Regions from separate parts of the Homo sapiens genome. Here region 1 is linked to region 2. The links are contacts of gene promoters, found by promoter capture Hi-C in blood cells and fetal thymus (Javierre and others, 2016). All regions are on one chromosome and are shown on one strand. Each heading gives the region's core, a stretch centred on a gene start or on the middle of the fragment in contact. The rest is flanking DNA. Distances are from core to core; before and after follow the strand shown. Region 1 holds the start of DTNB (dystrobrevin beta). Region 2 holds the start of FKBP1B (FKBP prolyl isomerase 1B).

What was found. The method cuts DNA at HindIII sites, captures the fragments that hold promoters and counts their contacts. A CHiCAGO score of 5 or more calls a contact.
Region 1: a contact is called between the fragment with the promoter of DTNB here and the fragment with the promoter of FKBP1B in region 2, in 2 of 17 cell types (monocytes and total B cells). The highest score is 5.8, in monocytes.

What each region holds. Positions count from the first base shown.
Region 1 is chr2:25,671,314-25,678,681 of GRCh38, forward strand. DTNB (dystrobrevin beta) reads right to left here and starts at 2,264. Exons shown (of 21, transcript NM_021907.5): 1 at 2,073-2,264. RefSeq lists silencers at 1,713-2,642, 2,007-2,301 and an enhancer at 4,450-4,659. The HindIII fragment of the contact is 7,823 bases long and covers 1-4,230 here.
Region 2 is chr2:24,045,284-24,052,528 of GRCh38, forward strand. FKBP1B (FKBP prolyl isomerase 1B) reads left to right here and starts at 4,458. Exons shown (of 4, transcript NM_004116.5): 1 at 4,458-4,603. The coding sequence starts at 4,567. It overlaps WDCP (WD repeat and coiled coil containing), which reads right to left and starts at 2,108. Exons shown (of 4, transcript NM_025203.3): 1 at 2,031-2,108. It also overlaps the pseudogene RNU6-370P. RefSeq lists a silencer at 4,320-4,619. The HindIII fragment of the contact is 22,874 bases long and covers 1-5,209 here.

The sequences.
Region 1 (7,368 bases), core at 1,014-3,513, 1.6 Mb after region 2:
GCACACGGGAAATCTGTGCATTTTATTTTGTCAACTATACGTCAAAAAGTTGGTTTTAAAATAAATACATAAACAAAATATCATTGAGAGAGCCTGGAATAAGGCACCCAATATTGTAGAACCTAGGCACCTCTCAACAAGAGACCTGCTGGCTGTACAGCCCTGAAACAGGAGAAATAAATTTACTTCTTCAAGGCTTCCTATACAATGCCAGATTTTGATTATTACTTATTTTTCACACGAAGAAACTAAGGCCCTGAGAGAGTAACATAAAGACATAAAATAAACAATAAGTTGAAATTCTCTTGGTTCTGAGTCTAATTTTCTAACCATAGGTAGAAATTTGTCTCTCGGGCATAGTGGACATCCAAAAACTCTGCCAGCACTACCTTGACTGCACAACCCCTTTCAAAGGCAATTCCACTTATGCATGATAAAAATCCTTAGAGAACTCATAAAAGGTCAAGTTTTAATTTGGCAGACAAAGTAACCCAACAGGCACTGCAACCCAGGTTACTGAAACAGCAGCCTGGAGCTCCAGAGTTCAGAGATTCAACCAAGGCAGAGCACAGGTAGAATTCCAGCCCTTACAGAAAAGCAGAGGCACCAACAGCCTCGCACTACAGGTCTAAGACCCAAGAACCAGGACCAAAATGAAAAAGTGTTCTCTAGACAACACTACCCTCTTCCTTCTCAAGTAATAGAAAAAGCCAATGGGAGAAGGAACAAAATGGGATGATCTCAAGCAACAGGCCAAGGAGCAAGCTCTTGAAGGCCAACATGAAAGACACATGGGAAAGTGGTAGCATGGCCACAGAAACCAAGACCTCGCCGCCTTAGCCATTGCTTTAACGTGCCCAGACCTCAGAACCGGGGTTGCCTCGCATAGCAAAAAAAAAAAAAAAAAAAAAAAAAAAAAAAGAGGCAGAGAGAGAGAACTTGTGGAACAGGAGAAATCCAGCAACCTTCCCTAACACTAGAGTGACTGACACTGCTCCATGGCAAATGTGGCCAAACCTTGCTTGTCCATTCATTCATGCAATAGACACTTATGGCTCAACCGCTGTGAGCCAGGCAACATTCTGAAGATTTAGCAGTCAATAGTCATGGAGCTTATTTCTAGATGGGAAGGAAGGAAACTTCCTTTCTTTCCAAACGTCTTTTTTCCCCATCTAAGAGCCCCCTTTAAATGTTACCCGTAGGAGCCTTCAAAACTCTCCCAAATTTCTCCCATAGGCTTCTTTTGACCTTTCTGCTTTATCCCCAAAACCACGCAATTTATGGCTCCAATTTCCCAATACTGGGAAAAGACAAAAGAGACCGAAAGTAAATAGGGCATGCGACATAAAATTCGACGCTCCTTTGTATTTCATGTGCATATCTTCACAGCCACACTGTCAGCACCTCAATAACATGACGGTGTTCCATACTATTTCGTGGCCCCAGTGCTGACTACGGGTCTCTACCTACGGTAGCTGGAAGGTCTTCCTAATCCCAAGGCCTGGCACAGGAATTTAAGGGCAAGTATTCGTCACCGGCATCCTCGTCTCGGGACACTTCTTTCCTGTCCAGGGTGACCTCCTGGACAGGTTCGCTATTAGGCGCCTCGGGAAACAGTGATTTGGGGTGATCTGAAATAAATACCCTTCCCTCTGCCAGGGCCTGCCCGCCTCACCTGCCCTCTGCCAGGACCTGCCTCACTCGCCCCTTCAGCACCTAACGCAGAGCCGCCTCCAGGCGAGCCGGGCTCGGGCAGCATCAGCCCGGCGCCGGGCCCCCGCTCGCGCCCGTGCCCCGGCGCGTTCCGGACCCCGATACCCCTCCCGGCCCGGGATCCGCCGCATCCCCTCTGCCTGTCCCTCCGGGGCTAGCCGCGCCGTCCCACCTCGCAGCCGCGCGCGGTGCAGCGGCCCCGGCTCCCCGCGCCCTCCCCGACTCCTGCAGCGCCGCACCCGCAGGCTCCCGGGTCCCCAGTCCCGGCGCAGCGCGAGCTGCCGTCCCGCACCTCGCGGGCGCGAGGCTCCAGCCCAGCTCGTCTCCCCACAGCCCCGGCGGCGGCCGCAGACCCCCACCTTGCTCACTTCCCCGCCGGAGCAGGGGTCGTCGGGAAGGTCTCCTGCGGCCTCACTCCTCCGCACGCTCCGGCCCAGCCCCCTCGGCTGAGGCAGCGGCAGCGCCTACTCAGGCCCCGGAGCCACCCCCGCGGCGAACGTTCGCAGCGCCCGGCTCGCGCCGCTTCTCCGCCCGGCACGCGCAGCGCCCGCCCCCGGCGCGAGGGCGCGAGGGCGGAGGGCGGAGGGCGGATGGGCGGGCGCGCGCCCAGCGCGAGCGCGCGGCCGGGGGCGTGGCTTCCGCGCGCGGGGAGGGGGCGGGAGCGGCCGAGCAACCCCCCTCCACCCCGCCCCCGCGGCCGCGCCCCGCCCACCGGTCGCCGGCGGGTTCCGGGCAGGCGGGAAGCTGGCTCCATCCAGGCTTCTCCCGCTCGCTGGCGTCGGGCCGGGTGTCTTTCCATCCGCAGGTATCCGTCGGCGGGGTGCCCGGCCCGACGTGACTACCCGACAAAGAATGCAAAGAGCCACCCCGTGAATCATTCTCCGCGCCTGGGTCACAAGCCTGTGCCCGAGTGACCCCCGTGAACTCCGCAAGCTAGCCCAGCCGCGGCGTGCGCCCCGCGCTGCACCAGGTGCCTGTGGGCGCACGATCACGGTCACGGCGCCTGGGCTCGAGGCGCCCCAAACTTAGCGGGGAAAACAGCCATGTACACAACCAAGTCCGATGACCCGTGCAGAGCCAAGCCACGGTGCGATGCTGGCACAGAAGCTAGAGACGACTTCTGCTTGGACGCCGCAGAGGGCTAGAGGCGGCATTTATGGTCAACCTCGAAGGAAGAAAAAGAAGTCCTAGGAGGAAAAAGGGAGGACATTAGGGCTGGGAAAACAGTTTGGGCAAAGGAGCCGGGGCAGCCAGGTTTACCATCTCAGCACCAGCTTTTTTGTGTTTTACTGTTATCCATCTTTTATAGAATTCTTTCCAAACTGTGAAATACAGGAGATGGTGCCAAATTAGAATATAGCAAGGACTTTTTGAATGGTTCAAATGGTCATTCTCAACGTTACTTAAGACTCAAAACAGCAACGTCCTTTGGGGGCTATTGGTCAATGATGAAGGCTGTAAGCTCCAGAGCTAAGCGACCCCAGGCCTGCATGCTGGGAGTATGGTTTTCACTGCTTTTTGGCACCTTACGGTAAGGCAGATCGTGCCACCTCCTGCTGCTGCCTGCCTGCCTGCCTGCCTGCCTTTAGAACACCCTCTTCCTCCTCCTCTCCTCTTTTTATTTTTAAACTCCTATGGTGAAGGAAATGCTGATAACCAACTTTGTTAAATGGGAACAAATAGGTTCCTCAAAAGATGAGCATTTTCTGGCCTGCCGCGGAGGCTCACGCCTGTAATCCCAGCACTTTGGGAGGCTGAGGCAGACGGATCACTTGAGGTCAGGGGTTCGAGACCAGCCTGGCCAACATGGCGAAACTCTGTCTCTACTAAAAATACAAAAATTAGCCGGGCGTGGTGGTGTACGCCGTAATCCCAGCTACTTGGGAGGCTGAGGCAGGAGAATCGCCTGAACCTAGGAGGCAGAGGTTGCAGTGAGTCGAGATCGCACCACTGTACTCCAAGTCTGGGCAAGAGAGTGAGACTCCGTCTCAAAATAAATAAATAAAGATGGACATTTTACCTTTTACCTTACATATATGAAGTGTGTGAATATTTTCATGCTTGAGGAGACTTATCTCTTGTAGGCACGGTCTTGGCTATGTTTTGTACATATTAAGATACTCAGAATACAGGTAAGAGACCTCTAGCTTCTTTATTTGCCCTTTTTGAGCACCCCCTATGTGGAAGGCATTGAGAGGGGTAAAACATTGATTCTGTTCTTTGGAGAAAAGATGTGTAAATAATATAAAATAAATGTGTAAATATCGCTTGATATGTTCGGTTTATTGATTGAAACCAAGGTAATTTCAATATGTGGACTAGACAATCCTAAACCATAAGGGAATTAAATACTTCAAGGACACTGTATTGGCATCTCTCCATCTCTGTTCTCTATTTCTTCACCTCCCACATCCTCAGAAAACTTTTCAAACACCTTTCAATCATTCTCCCCCTCTCACTCCAAAATTACCAACTTCTCTTTACTTGTCTCTTTCCTTCATCATCTATTCATGTTTAAGCTTTTCCTGTCCTCAAGAAAAAGGAAGAAACCCTTTCGCTGTCCCTCTAGATTCTGCTTCAGTTACTAGTCCCTCTCTGAGTTTTCCTTCATAAATATCTTGAAAGTCATCTACCCTCATCTCTACCTCCTCAGCAGCTCCTCAGCTCCTCAAACCTATGTAGTTTCTGTCCACACCACATCACTGCATTGCTCTCAGTCATGAATGGCTTGTTGGATCCTAAATACCACAAGCCATCTCTGAGTCCTCATATTGTTAGAACTCTCAGTGACATTGAACAGAGTAGCCCACTCTTTCTGAAACTCCCTTGGTGTCATGGCATGACTCCTGTCTTAACCCCTGTGACCACTTCTCAGTTTCACAGATTCTCTCCTCAGCTGGTCTCACGCCACACATTCTCCCTGGACCATTCCATCCACTCCGCTTCTTTATCTACCGCATATCAGCAACTCCCAAGTGCACTCTCTCTAGCTCAGGCCACTCATCTGGGTTCCTTATTCACAAAAGCCCGCCAGACTTCTCCACCTGGGTGTCCTAGAGGTACCCCACGTTCTACATGTCTAAACTACTGTCCACCCAGTTGACCAATTCAGAAACTGGGGGGCCATTCTTGATTCCTTCTTCTCCCACCACCCCTCTGCCCTGACTCCATACCCAACAACCACTAAGTCCCATTGATGCTTCCTCATAAATAAATAACTAGAATCTTTCCCTCTTAGCCCACCTCCCCTAAACTAATGCAGCAGCTTTGTTTGTTTGTTCTGGGACGGAGTCTCGCTCTGTCACCCAGGCTGGAGTGCAGTGGCACGATCTTGGCTCACTGCAACCTCCGCCTCCCAGGTTCACGCGATTCTCCTGCCTCAGCCTCCTGAGTAGCTGGGATTACAGATGCCCATCATCATGCCTGGCTAATTTTTATATTTTTAGTTAGAGACGGGGTTTCACCATGTGGACCAGCCTGGTCTCAAACTCCTGGCCTCAAGTGATCCCCACCTGCCTTGGCCTCCCAAAGTACTGGGATTACAGGCGTGAGCCACTGCGCCTGGCCATGCAGCAGCTTTTTATGTGGTCTCCCTGCCAGTCTTGCTGCTTCCAATCCATCTTCCATGCTGCAGATTAGAGAAAGCTTTCAAAAATTTACCACCCCTGGTGTCACTGTCTAGCACTTCCCTTAATCTAGCCCTTGCCCATTCTCTCCAATCCATCGTCTATTGCTTCCTCCACACACACCATACAAACTCCTGGAATGTTTCCACTTCCCCTTGGCTCCACACCTTTGTGCTTGTTTCTGTCTCTTTTTGGAATGTCATTTGAATACAAGCAAAGAATATCCAACATATGTGTCACTGGGGTGCTACATATGTCGAAGCTATAATCTAAGAATCTTTCTGAAAATAAGATATAAACCTATAAGGCCTACATTTACCTGGGAAAATTGCCAGAGGCTGAACTCTGAGAGCTATGCTATTTACAGTGTTAAACTGATAATAATAATAATCTTCAAGGTCTGCAGGTACAAAGTTCAAATTGTTTAAAAGGGTAAGAAAATTGGACTGCAGGCCAGGTGCGGTGGCTCAAACCTGTAATCCCAGCACTTTGGGAGGCTGAGGTGGGCAGATCACCTGAGGTCAGGAGTTCGAGACCAGCCTGGCTAACATGGTGAAACCCTGTTTCTCCTAAAAATGCACAAAATTAGCCGGGTGTGGTGGTGCACGCCTGTGATCCCAGCTACTCGGGAGGCTGAGGCAGGAGAATCGCTTGAACCCGGGAGGCGGAGGTTGCAGTGAGCCGATATTGCGCCATTGCACTCCAGCTTGGGCAACAAGAGCGAAAATCTGCCTCAAAAAAAAAAAAAAAGAAAGAAAAGAAAATTGGGCTGCGGGACTTTAAACGTGGCTGCCAATTTTTTTTTTTATCATTCCTCTCCATCCAGGATGGCCTTACTGAATTGCTCGGCCAATAGAACATGCAATATTCTGGGATTTCTAATCCCAGTTCACAAAAAGTCTTTAAGTGTCCACTTGAGTTTGGGTCTTTGGTCTTTGGGAACACTTTTTTTTTTTTTTTTTTTTTTTTTTTGAGATGGACTTTCACTCTTTCACCCAGGCTGGAGTGCAGTGGCACGATCTCTGCTCACTGCAACCTCTGCCTTCCGGTTTCAAGCGATTCTCCTGCCTCCGCCTCCCGAGTAGCTGGGACTACAGGTACCCACCACCACACCTGGCTAATTTTTGTATTTTTAGTAGAGACGGGGTTTCACCATATTGGCCAGGCTGGTCTTGAACTCCTGACCTCATGCCACCCGCCTCAGCCTCCAAAGGTGCTGAGATTACAGGCGTGAGCCACCGTGCCTGGCCAGAACACTTATTCTTAAAGCCCCAAGCTGCTATGTAAAATATGTAACTCCCCAGAAAGGTCCTACATGGAGAAGGAGAGGACCTAGCTGATTCTTGCTGGTATGAGTGAAATCGTCATGAAAGCCCTACATCAGCAGAATACCACTGAGTGACCTCAGTTGAAGCCACAGGGAACAGAAGAATCATCCAGCCAAGCCCTACCCAAATTCCTAACTCCAAAGACTGTGAAATTATAATTAAAATGGTTCTTACTTGAAGCCATTCTTTTTAGGGTAGGTGGTTTATTATGGAGTCTGGTAGCCAAAATAGTTGGCATCACCCGTCTCAAGAACAACAAACAAGCAAGGCAGTAGTGATACAGCATTTTCAGCATTTTCTGGAAACTTAAGGAACAAAGATGCAAGCCAAGGATTTTATATCCATCCATTCATGCTGTTTTTAAAACATCTAGTCGATAAAAAAGAACTGTTTACAAAATGCACAACTCAAAGAATACTGCACATGCAAGCCCATCTTAAGCATCTAGTAGAGCAGGGTCAGCAAATTTTTCTAAAGCATCTGATAGTAAACATTTTAGGTTTGGTAGTCTAACTACACCAGCCTGCTACTGTAGCACATAAGCAACCATACATGATATGTCAATAAGTGGGCGTGGCTATGTTCCAATAAAATTATATTTACAAAAACAGACTTGGAGCTGGATTTGGCCCATGAGCTACAGTTTGCCACCCCTATACTAGACGAAAAGGAATAAATTTATCAAGTAAGCACATCACAAA
Region 2 (7,245 bases), core at 3,208-5,707:
ACCAGAGCATGTTTCAAAGGCAAGGAAGGCAGGGCAGGCTGGGTGTGGTGCCTCATGCCTGTAATCCCAGCACTTTGGGAGGCTGAGGCAGGTGGATCATCTGAGGTCAGGAGTTCGACACCACCCTGGCCAACATGGTGAAACCCTGTCTCTACTAAAAATACAATATTAGCTGGGCGTGGTGGTGTGTGCCTGTAGTTCCAGCTACTTGGGAGGCTGCAGCAGGAGAATCGCTTGAACCCGGCTGGCGGAGGTTGCAGTGAGCCGAGTTTGCGCCACTGCACTCCAGCCTGGGTGACAGAGCAAGACTCCATCTCAAAAAAAAAAAAAAAAAAAAGAGAGAGAGAGAGGAAGGAAGGAAGGAAGGAAGGAAGGGGGAGGGGGAGGGAAGGAAGAAAGGAAAGGAAGGGCAGGCACAGTGGCTAACACCTGTAATCCCAGCACTTTGGGAGGCTGAGGTGGGAGGATCACTTGATGCCAGTATTTCAAGACCAGCCTAGGCAACACAGGGAGACCCCAATTCTACAGAAAAATTTTTAAAAATGAGGTGGGTGCTCACTTTGGCAGCACATATACTAAGACTGAAATGATACAGAGCGTAGCATGGCCCCTGCACAGGGATGACTTGCAAATTTGTGAAGCGTTCCATAAAAAAGGAAAATAAAAAATAATAAAAATAAAAATAAAAATTAGCTGGGTGCAGCGTCCCACACCTGCAGTCCTAGTTACTATGGAGGCTGAGAGGATTTGAGCTCAGGAGTTCAAGGTTACAGTAAGCTATGATCACACCACTGCATTCCAGCCTGGGTGACAGAGTGAGACCCTGTTGGGGAGGTGGGGGTGGGGGCAGTAGGGGAGGAACGTGTGTAGTATGTGACAAATTGAAATTAACATGTGCTTCATGTAAGATGTCTACATGGTACCAATGTACCTTAGGCAGTCAGAGGTAAGGATTTGGAAATCACTGACATAGGGTTAATCATTAAAGTCAAGGTAGTGGAGAACCTCACTGTATAAGATCAGAGGGCCAGGAGGACCAAGGTTTAAATGCTCTTCAGGCATTCCCCAACGCTACTGATTTTGCCTGAAACTAATTGTATACCTATTGTTTCACAATCTCCAGAGTATAAGTTTTTTGGAGAACATGAAATCAAGAACCCTGGGTGTTTTAGGAGGGAAAAGACCACTGTATTAGTTCAGGTCTCCGGAGAGGTGGTCAGAAAACTAAGAGCCGGTGCTCAGTATATAACCATTTAATTCTGTTTTTCATCTTCTTTAAAGACAACTCATGACGAGAATCAAGGGATTCAGGTGAACTGGCATTTCCAGCAGGTTTAAACAAAAGTACATCCCTCCCCCAACTTGTTTTCCAAGTTTATTGTATTTCCACTATAAAATGATTTCAAGTTCTTTACACTTATTTGGAAACAAAAATCATACACAAGAAAAAAATTAAGAAGAGTTAACGAAAAAACATTCATCCAAAGAAAATTATGACTAATCCCTCTAGACTCTTCTATGCATAGTTTGGCTGTCAAACTTTTTCAGTTATACTGTGCAACTTTGTATCACGGTTTTCATCTAACATTATATATTAGCATTTCCCTATGTTATTTAAAAGTTTAATAAATTAGTTTTAGAGGCCACTTCACATACACTCAGTGAAGTGACATAATGTACTGAACTGCTCCTAGCTGTACCCAACTTTATCCCGCTACCCGCTATAAATAAAGCTCGGACCGAGGTCTTAAGGCTTAAAGCATTTCCTGACTTTGGATGACTTCCTTGGGACATATTCCCAGGAGTGTTATTCACGAGTCACGGTCATAATCCCTCATTTACACCCACCCCTAGCTCGATCCTCATCCCGCGACCCCTCACACGCGGCCCGCCCCATTCTCCTCATCCTCTCTGCACGCCTGAATCTCCTCCTTCCCGCCCCCTACCCACCAAGAGCCGATCCACTTCCCTCCTGACCCCCTACAGCCTCCCCACACCCGCCAGGCCCGGCAGCAGTGGAGATGAAATACCTTAGGTCTCACTGCCTCACAAAAACACCAATCTCTCTGTGGCCGCCCAACATCACGCCGCCGCACATAAGAAGTTCTGGGCAGCCACCGGAAGCACCGGCCCTCAGTCCTCTGATAGGTGGGCGGTGATATCGGTCCTCTGATAGGTGGGTGGTCCTCTGATAGGATAGGCACGCTCCGAGATGGCCCCGTCTATTGGCTTTTGAATATGCACATTAGCAGAGGGTTCGTCCCACTGGCCAATAAGCTCTGGCTCTGCCGCACGGATCGCTGGGAGTGGTAGTCCCCGTAAAACCACCGACCGCAAGCCCGCCACATTTTCCCTCCCTTAAGCACTTGAGCTCTTTCCCCACTTCTCGTCGGTTCTCTTGTCTAAGGAGTCCAGGAGCCCTAGGATCACCACGGCTTTTTAACCTTCTTTAAAATCTGATAAAATCTCTCAGGAAAATGTTCTTATCTGTACACAAAATACTGTGCATTGAGCTGAAGCCGCTGCATGGGCCTGTCCCAGCTACAAATCCCTGTTCTACCCCGACCCTAAGCGTGCCTGCTCTGGCCGCAGCCTATGGATTTAGTGCGTCCCTTAGGCTTCTTCAGACCTATGAGGAATTCCAGGTCCTGACCCTCACAGTACAGTCGACAATCATCTTTCTTTAACAACACAGCCAGAACACCTTCAGGGATGCAGACAACCTCATCTGGGACCTAAGCATCCGGGAGAGTGGGGATGAGGAAATGGAGGAAGAACACCCTTGGGGCTCATTCTGGACCAGTTTGCCAGGCTTTTCTCCCCATGCCTATCTTCCAGTGCCACTCAGGAGAATCATATCTTCACATCAGTTTTTATGTTTTTCTTTTTCTTTTCTTTTCTTTTTTTAAAAATAAAGATGGCATGCCTGTAATCCCAGCACTTTGGGAGGCTGAGGCGGGCGGATAACCTGAGGTCGGGAGTTCGAGACCAGCCTGGCCAACATGGTGAAACCCTGTCTCTACTAAAAATTTAAAAATTAGCCGAACGCTGGTGTCTCACGCCTGTAATCCCAGCTACTTGGGAGACTGAGGCACGAGAATCGCTTGAACCTGGGAGGCGGAGGTTGCAGTGAGCCGAGATTGTGCCACTGCACTCCATCCTGGCGACAGAGTGAAGATTCTGTCTCAAAAAAAAAAAAAAAAAAAAGGAGAGAGAGAGAGACGGGATCTCGCTATGTTACCCAGGCTGGTCTTGAACTTCTAGGCTCAAGCAATCCTCCTGCCTCGGTCTCCTACAGTGTTGAGATTACAGGTGTGAGCCATTGTTCCAAAAATTGATATACTTGGCCTCACATCAATTTTTGGAACAATGCAGGTAATAATGAGGGGGAAAAAATTTTAAAAGTCCCAATTACCCTTTAAACAAATATTACCTCCTCCAAAAAATATTTTTCTAGATTCCTGAATGTATTTTTTGGTGGAGGAGGAACTCAAAGTAGAATTCATTTACATATTCATTCATTCATTCCACAGCACTAATCACTCCATGCAGTAACTGTGTGTCCCCGTCCCTCTCAGACTTAGTACCTGGAAGACAGCCAACCTGTCTTAATTCTATTGGTATCCCCAGGGCGCATTTCTTTGCCTTGAAAATTGAGTACCCAATAAATGTGCGTCGAGCAGAACTACACGAGATGGAGAACAGGGGTTTAGGGGTATGGGGGAGAGTCAGCAATTACTGGTGTCCTCCCTCCCTCCCCCAGCTCTGCTCCTACAGATCCAGGACGCCTAGCGAGGGTAGGAACCTCTTCTGTGCTTCCGCAACGCTCTGAACTGCACGGCACTGAGCGCATCTAATTAAAGTGATGGTTTCATTAGATAGCAACACAGCGAGACCCCGTTTCTACAAAAAATAAAAATAAAAAATAAAAGATTAGCTGGGCGTGGTTGCTCGCGCCTCTAGTCCCAGCTACTTGGGTGGAGGCTGAGGAAGAAGGATCGCTTGAGCCTAAGAGTTCGAGGTTGCTGTGAGCTATGATCGCGCCACTGGACTCCAGCCTGGGCGACAGAGCAAGATCCTCTGTCTAAAATAAAAATAAAAATAAAATGATGGTTTAATCGCCGGCCTTTGCCCCTTCTGCCCCCCACCCCCCACAAGTCTGTAGGACTGGGTTGACTTCCCAGAGCTTACTACAGATTAGATGCTAAATAAATGTCTATTGGACGGATGCGCGAATGAATGGATGGATGGAGGATGTGGTTGTGCTTACCACGCTCCCTGGTCAGTGGGTTAATGTCGTCAGGCGGGGCCAGGCTCGCTAACAGCCGGGCGGGGTCCCTTCCCCCGGGCCCCGCCCCGGCCGACCCCACCTTTCCGCGCGGCTCCGCCCCGCCGCCCCCTTGCCAGTGGCCCCTCCCCGCGCAGGTCCCGACTCCAGCCGCACCTCCTCCGGCTCTGCAGTGGCGGCGAGGAGGCGAGCCGGAGCGACGGCGGGGCTGGGGCCGGAGCCGAGCCGGGGTCGGGCAGCAGCAGGGACCCCCCAGAGGCGGGGCCTGTGGGACCGCTATGGGCGTGGAGATCGAGACCATCTCCCCCGGAGACGGTACCGGGCTCCCTCCGGAGCCAGGGGAGGGGAGGGGTCCCGGGGCGGAGCCCGGAGGGCGGGGGTCTGATTCGGAGGTGGCGTGGAGGGTGCTGAAGGGTCGGGGGGCTGGATGGGGAAGGCAGGCGGAGACGCCGGACGGGATTCTTGGGGGTCTAGGAGACCATCCTCCGCCATCCTCTTCCGCGCTCACCTAGGGGAATGTAGGCGGCAGCTCGGAGGCGGGGGTCTGCGGCCCGGAGGCGGGGGTCTGCGGCCCGCCACCGCCCCGGGCTTCTCCTGTCGCGGCTGCAGTCGTTCGGTTATCCGCTGCTGCTGATACCCCAGCCTGGGTTTCGGCTTCGCTTTCCCTGCCCTACTCGGCGAGCTCTGGAAAGCAGGACCTGCTCTCGGATACCCGCTGCTCGGGGACCTCCTCCTAGCGCGTCCCCCGCCGGGCCTCCCCTCGGTCGCTTCCCTGCGGGCCGGGCTGTGAGCGGCTGTGGGGACAGACCCAGGCTGGGGAAGGGGGAAGCGCTCCCTTGCCCGCTTCCGGATCTCGCTTTATCCTGCCGCCGCTTTCAGACTCCCTGGCCACCCTGTCCACTCCCATGGCCTCCACATTGAAGCTTCTAAGCCCAGCCCTGCGACCTACGGCCGAACCTCTCCCTGGACGTCCCAGGGTGCTCCCTGGTCAGCAAGTCCAAAACAGAACTCTCGCTTCCCACCTTCTCTCCTAAGTGATCCTCTTTATCCCCCTTCCGTGTCTCACTTTCCCAAGTCCTTGTATTACTGGGTCTGGGTGTGCAAGGAATAGCCATTTCTTTATTTCTTGAAATTTAATTAATACCAAAGCCCCCATTGTCTGCAGGGTTTGATGGGCAAACTTCATATCAGATATTATTAATATGAACAGCTCCCCTCCCCAGGAAATTGGATAACTTCTTGGCTCCAGGCCATCTTCCTTGTCCAATCCCAGCCACTACTTCAGATATCCCCTGGAGTACAGGCTTCTTTGCCCACGCAGGAAACATTGCTGCTGGGTCCCAGAAAGCATCTCCCTGAGGCCTTTTCATCCCTCAGCAGCCCCTGAGCTAATCTCCCCATCTTCAGTCTCTCCTCCCTGCTTTCAATCTCGTCCCCAATCTCATATTCACTCCCTTTCTATATCATAGCCTGAAGACTCTTCTTAAAATGCAGTGGCTCACGCCTGTAATCCCAGCACTTTGGGAGGCTGAGGCGGGCGGATCACAAGGTCAGGAGTTCGAGACCAGCCTGACCAACATGTTGAAACCCCGTCTCTACTAAAAATACAAAAATTAGCTGGGCATGGTGGTACGCACCTGTAATCCCAGCTACTCGGGAGGCTGGGGCAGGAGAATCACTTGACCCTGGGAGCCAGAGGTTGCAGTGAGCTGAGATTGTGCCATTGCACTCCAGCCTGGGTGACAGAGCAAGACTCTATCTCAAAAAAAAAAAAGAAAAAAAATGCATGTTTGACTATGCCCCTCCCTCAGGCAGAAGATGTTTTAATGATTCTTCCCTCTCCCCCAGGAGGGGCCTTTGGTGCTATGGTCTATTCTCATCTTCCACACTAGAGCTTCATCTCTCACCACCTGTCCTAAGCCCACCACTAACTTTTTCCTCCAGCTTTCCCAAGCTGCCTGCAAGTTGTCAAACACACCACTCGTTCAGCAAATATTTATTGAACGTGTGTGCTAGGCCCTAAGGTGACACAGTTGAAACAGACAGGGTTCCCGCTATTGCTGGACTGAGGGCCTTTGAACATGTTACATGTTGTTCCCTCTTCCCAGATGGTGTTTTTTCACTTCCTCTGGCAAACTCTTACTTGTCTTTCAAGACCTGGCTTCACCATTCTCTCCTCTATGATGTTTTCCTTGACTTCTGTGGTCAGTTAGCTGCTCCCTCCTCCAGGATCCCATAGAGTCCTCTAAATATCGGCTCTGTGGTTAGGCTTCCTTAGGCTTTGTATCCAGCCCCGTAGCTTTAAATTCCAGCCAAATTTATACCTCCAGTGCAGACTCTTCATCTGCCTACTTGCAATATAAACTCAGATGTCTAATAGGCATCTCAAGATTGCCACCCGCACAAATCTGTTCCTCCCGTCTTCCCTATCTCAGGAAATAGTTGCACTATTCATCCAGTTGCCCAAACAGAAAACCCAAGCATCGTTCTTGTTGTCTCCTTTGTCCTCATCCTGGACCCCATTTCCAGTCTGATTGCATGACCTGTCAGCTCCGCTTCGAAAATATGTCTCCAATCTTTCACTCTCTTCTCTGCTGCCACCACCTTAAATCAAGCTATCATTGATTTCTTGTCTGGATTATTGCAACAGACGCCTAACCGTCCATCCTACACATAGCAGCCAGAGTGATGTTATAAAATCTTAATTCAGATTATGTCATTCTCTGGCTTAAAACCCTCCAGTGGTTTCCTATTGCACTTAGTATTAAATCCGGCTCTTCAAGCCCTGCATGATCCATGTCCTTCCCACCTCTCTCCTCCCTCCCTTCTTTCCAGCACCTAGCCTCCTTGCTCACTGCAAATGTGTTGATTCTGTGCACTTGTTACTCCTTTCCCAAGTGCTATTTCCCAGTATTTTGCTCATCCTTCAAGTCCCAGCTCCAGGGGGCACCTTCTCC